2 separate regions of the Homo sapiens genome follow, and region 1 is linked to region 2. The links are contacts of gene promoters, found by promoter capture Hi-C in human tissues and cell types (Jung and others, 2019). All regions are on one chromosome and are shown on one strand. The core of a region is centred on a gene start or on the middle of the fragment in contact, and the rest is flanking DNA. Distances in the headings are between cores, read along the strand shown. Region 1 overlaps CNNM2 (cyclin and CBS domain divalent metal cation transport mediator 2). Region 2 holds the start of AS3MT (arsenite methyltransferase).

Region 1 (2,700 bases), core at 41-2,540, 160 kb after region 2:
TGACTTTCACAGTTTCACATTTGACCTTTACAGATGTCATTAGTATAAGGATTAGAAGCAGGGAAACAGGTTTTGTGAAGAAGATGATAGGTTTAGTTTTGGACATGTTGAACTTAAGATGCTTATTGGACAAGAGGAGGAGGAGGACCAGATGGACAGATGGAATATTTTTATATCTGAGGTTTAGATGAGACTGGGATGGTGGAGTATGTAGATTTTAGGGTTTTCAGTCTGTGCTTTATGCTCCCTTTGTTGTAGTTACTCAATTAGTGCATCGTGAAAAGCATATTACCACAAAGCTAATGAAGCTAAAGCTTAAGTGCTCAGATGTGTGGGCTGCTTCCAAGGCCCTGGGAAGACCCCTAGCAAGTTTTACATGTTTATGTGTATTTGTAAATTTTGAAAAATCGGAAAGTTTACTGTGGGCCAAAATTACTCTTTCCACATTGAGTTACCCTCTCTTACTCTTGTGTGTGGCAATGTTGGAGTGGTCCCAAGCATTTTTGGGATTCAGCTGTGGGAAAGTTAAGCTGTGGATATACACTTTGTTTGAGTTTACTGGGATATATCTCTGTGGTTGCAGTCACTTTGATGTATAGTTATTGGTGGCCATCTCACTGCATAAATGATATCCAACAATGTGGATGTCACTCAAAGGTACAAGCCCTGCATTGTATTGAGACAGGAGTGTGTTCTAACACATCTGGCACTGGAATCTGCAAGTAGAAGAGCATGAAATGTGTGAAACCAAAAAGTGGCTGGTGGAAAAACTTTCCACTCACCCGATGTCTTAGCCTGAACATCAGCCTGGTAGAAAGACTTGCATGCAGGGAAGTTTATATGGAGTGCAGTCCCAGGAAGCAGGAGTTCAGGACAAGGAAAGTGAAATGAGAAGGAGGGAAAGAAAATTTAAGGATCTGATAGCGCCTAGGCAGCAGGTGTTCAATTCCACTAGAACCTTTTTAGGAACCTATGGAATGGAATGCTCTCAGAACTGTCTGCTTAAGTACAAAATGCGGGGGGGGCGTGAGGGGATTTATCCCGTTGATTTCTCCCTCTTGTTTGCATATGCATAACTGCAGAATAAGTTTCAAGAGAAATCCTAAGGCAGGAAGTGAAATATTGAGCATTAGCAATGAGGCAGTGTCTGCCTGCACTGATGCACGAGCATGAAGCCACTGCAAGCCTGCGTGAACTAGTCACTGCGGCAGTGGAGGGAGTGAGCACTGGGGCCTAGGGGGTTGGAAGTGGCTTTTTAGAGGTGTCCAACACTGTCAGAGGACCCTATTCCCCTTGATCCCTGGTTGAAATACACATTTTCTCTTGTTAGAAATATATACATTAGGGGCCGGGTACGGTGACTCATGCCTGTAATCCCAGCACTTTGGGAGGCCGAGGCAGGTGGATCACCTGAGGTCAGGAGTTCAAGACCAGCCTGGCCAACATGGTGAAACCCCATCTCTACTAAAAAAGACAAAAAACAGCTGGGCGTGATGGTGCACATCTGTAATTCCAGCTACTCAGGAGGCTGAGGCAGGAGAATCGCTTGAACCTGGGAGATGGAGGTTGCAGCGAGCCGAGATCACCCCACCGCACTCCAACCTGGGGGACAGAGTGAGACTCCATCTCAAAAAGAAAAAAAGAATTACCCTGTAGAATGCAAATTTTTAACAGTACTGCAAATTTCATCCAGAATGCCACTGTTAACATTTGTTTCTAGAGTTTTCTATATATAATTATGATTAATGCAATTAATTACAATGAATACAAATGGGAACATACTATAATATTCTACATGACTTTTTTTTAGAGTAGCCTTTCATAACAATTGATGTAGCTCTTTTTTTTTTTTTTTTTTTTTAAATAGCTGCATAGCATTCTATTGCTGATAGAATCCTACTATATCCACGCTAGCTGCATAGCATTCTAGTGTGGATATTGTAGAATTTACTTAACGGGGCTTTATCGTGGATGTTTAGGTGGTGACTTTTTTCTTATAGAAATATAAAAACTTAGCTGAGTGTGGTGGCTCACGTCTGTAATCCCAACACTTTGGGAGGCTGAGGTGGATGGATTGCTTGAGCTTAAGAGTTTGAGACCAGCCTGGGCAACATGGTGAAACCCTGTCACTACAAAAGATACAAAAATTAGCCAGATGTGGCTACCCATGCCTGTAATCCCAGCTACTTATGAGGCTGAGGCAGGAGAATCACATGAACCCAAGAGGTGGAGGTTGTAGTGAGCCATGATCATGCCACTGCACTCTAGCCTGAGTGACAGAGTAAGACCCTGTCCAAAAAAAAAAAAAGAAAAGAAAAACAGAAAAACTAATTTTTGTCTTCTATACATTTTTTAAATTTATTTTATTTTTATTTTTATGTTTTTGAGATGGAGTCTTGCTTTGTCACACAGGCTGGAGTACAATGGCATGATCTCAGCTCACTGCAACCTCCGCCTCCCAGGTTCAAGCAATTCTCCTGCCTCAGCCTCCCGAGTAGTTGGGACTACAGGCGCCCACCACCAGGCCCACTTAATTTTATTGTATTTTTTAGTAGAGACGGGGTTTCACTGTGTTAGCCAGGACAGTCTCAATCTCCAGACCTCCTGATCTGCCTGCCTTGGCCTCCCAAAGTGCTGGGATTACAAATAGGCGTGAGCCACCACGCCTGGACAATCTAAGGTTTTTTTTAAAAAGCTTCT
Region 2 (2,700 bases), core at 80-2,579:
ATAGAAATGATCGTTACAAGCTGGGCATGGTGGCTTGCACCTGTAGTCCCAGCTACTGGGGAGGCTGAGGAGGGAGGATGGCTTGAGGCCAGAGTTGAAGGATCCAGAGATGATTGCGCAGTGACGCTAAGCTTGGGCCACAGAGTTGAGACCCTGTCTCTAAAAATTTTTTTTTAATTTAAATTATAAAAAGAGAAATGCTTGTTACAACCACAAAGGGAAACAAGATATACACATATAATTGTGGAAGTAAAAATAAATAATTTAAAAATACTTTTGGGTGCTCGCTTCGGCAGCACATATAGTTGGAATGATAGAGAAGATTTGCATGGCCCCTGCGCAAGATGACATACAAATTCGTGAAGTGTTCCATATTTAAAAAAACAAAAAATACTTTTGGGCCTGGCACTGTGGCTCATGCCTGTAATCCAAACACTTTGGGAGGCTGAGGCGGGCGGATTGCTTGAACCCAGGAGTTGGAGACCAGCCTGGACAACATGGTGAAATCCCGTCTCTATAAAAAAATACAAAAATTAACCAGGTGTGGTGGTGCACGCCTGTAATCCAAGGTACTTGGGAGGCTGAGGCGGGAGGATCGCTTGAGCCAGGAGGTTGGGCCTGGGTAACAGAGACCGTCTCAAAAAAATTTAAAAATTAAAAAAAAAACTTTCTGCAAGATGAAGTGACAATACCTGGAAAATACATGTGACTTGACCAAAAATTACTATAGGTGAAAATAAATTTAGCAAAGTTGCTTTCCTAAATACAACCCAAAATAGACTGGGAACAGCTACATACTGTTAATGGTTCCCTCTATGTGACATTCTAGAAAAGGCAGAACTATAGGGAGGGAAAACATCTGTGGTTGCCCAGGAGCTAGGGGTGGGAAGAGGGAATTTACTACAAAGAGGCACGAAGAAACTTGTGGGCCAGAGCTATTTTGGTCTCCGTTTTGGTGATGTATATACGTTTGCCAGAGTTCACAGAACTGCACACTGAAGAAAGATGGATTTCACGGAATGTGAATTATATCTCAACAAACTTGACTTCAAAAAACAGATCGAGAAAAGATGATTCTATTCCCAAAAAGGGGGAGGGGGGAAGATCATTATATAGGTGAGTGTTCATTTAAATCAGAGTACGAGATTTATCCGTGAAAATCGCAGTGGAGCGAACAAGGGGGATGCTGATACCGACCTCCTGGTTGGAAAGCCTGTAGAGCAGCGCGGATGACAGTGGAACAGCGGGTCAGGCGGTGGGCGCCTGAGCGAGGGGCTAGAGCGGGATGGGCGGGCGGAGCAAGCCTGCCAGCCTGGGCGGGGCCTCGGCACAGGAGCTGGCTGCGGGAGCCCGCCGTCCTGAGTCGCAGGCCGAGGAGACAGTGAGTGCGCGCCCTGAGTCGCAGGCCGAGGAGACAGTGAGTGCGCGCCCTGAGTCGCAGGCCGAGGAGACAGTGAGTGCGCGCCCTGGGCGCCCCGCCCCAGCCCCCAGCCCCTTCCCTGGGCCCCCGCAAGGCGGGAACGCGAGCGCCTCCCCCGAGCTGTGTCTCGAGACCTTTGTCCTCCCCTCACCCCTCGGCCCGCTGCCTGCCCTTTACTGGCCCCCTCCCTCATGCCCGTCCCTCAGCACCCTCTCCTTTCAACTAACTTTCCCGCTCCCGACAGTGGCTGCACTTCGTGACGCTGAGATACAGAAGGACGTGCAGGTGAGAGCTGTAGGGCCTGGAATGGCCCAAGTGGAGCCTAGGCTAATGGAAGTCTGGCCTGGCCCGCACCCTGTCCCCCGGGACTCCTGGAGTCGGGGTAGGGCAGGGTCTAGGCTTCGACCTTTCCAGGGAACTGAGGTCGGCCAAGTGGAGGTGGAGGTGGTGACGGAGCCCTCGCGCTGCAGTCACAGCTCTTCTCCCTCTCTACCCCTCACTCCACTGTGGGACGCTGGGTCAGACCTACTACGGGCAGGTGCTGAAGAGATCGGCAGACCTCCAGACCAACGGCTGTGTCACCACAGCCAGGCCGGTCCCCAAGCACATCCGGGAAGCCTTGCAAAATGTACACGAAGAAGTAGCCCTAAGGTAGAGTGCCCTGTGCTGTCCCCAGGAAGACCCCAAACAGCAGTTTTCCCAAAAGATAATGATGCAGGTCACTAGGGAATTAACCCGTAGCCACCAACCCATCAGCTTGCCTTGTCTATTGTAAAAATCCTAAATCTCAGCACCCATCATCTTACTGCTCTAAGAACCTCCGATGAGTCTGGGCGCGCCAGTGAGCCTGTAGTCCCAAGTGCTTGGGAGGCTGAGGCAGAGGATCGCGTGAGCCCAGAAGTTACAGGCTGTAGTGTGCGATCCGGGATGTGAATAGCCACTGCACTCCAGCTTGGTCAACATAGCCAGATGCATCTCTAAAATAAATGCGTACTTTAAAAAAATTGCCTAAAAAAAAGAACCTCCAGCGTGAACACTCTGTAGTCCCTACCCATGCTCACAGAATACAGTCACACTCACTGGATCTGCCATTCAAGATATGCGCAGTTCAGCACCCACTAATCAACCTTGGCCCTTTTGACCCTTCCCTTCCTCACTCCATCAGCACTGCCTGCCCAGCCGGCAGTCACCAATTTGGAAGGTCTTCCCTTTTCTTTTTCCTTCCCAACCCTGCGCATCCAGCACCACGCTGCTGTCCCACCTACTGCATGGAGCCTTCT

Evidence for each region. The method cuts DNA at HindIII sites, captures the fragments that hold promoters and counts their contacts. A contact is called where the count stands out against the background at its distance.
Region 1: a fragment that was not itself captured here is called in contact with the fragment with the promoter of AS3MT in region 2 in 1 of the 25 tissues and cell types used here (liver).

Annotation. Positions count from the first base shown.
Region 1 is chr10:103,030,822-103,033,521 of GRCh38, forward strand. All of the region lies in intron 1 of CNNM2 (cyclin and CBS domain divalent metal cation transport mediator 2), which reads left to right. Among named protein-coding and RNA genes, the nearest start is that of CNNM2, 110 kb to the left of the region's middle. The HindIII fragment of the contact is 3,923 bases long and covers 1-2,700 here.
Region 2 is chr10:102,868,141-102,870,840 of GRCh38, forward strand. AS3MT (arsenite methyltransferase) reads left to right here and starts at 1,330. Exons shown (of 11, transcript NM_020682.4): 1 at 1,330-1,453; 2 at 1,665-1,705; 3 at 1,944-2,071. The coding sequence starts at 1,453. It overlaps BORCS7-ASMT (BORCS7-ASMT readthrough (NMD candidate)), which reads left to right. Exons shown (of 15, transcript NR_037644.1): 6 at 1,665-1,705; 7 at 1,944-2,071. It also overlaps the pseudogene LOC124902567. The HindIII fragment of the contact is 5,936 bases long and covers 1-2,700 here.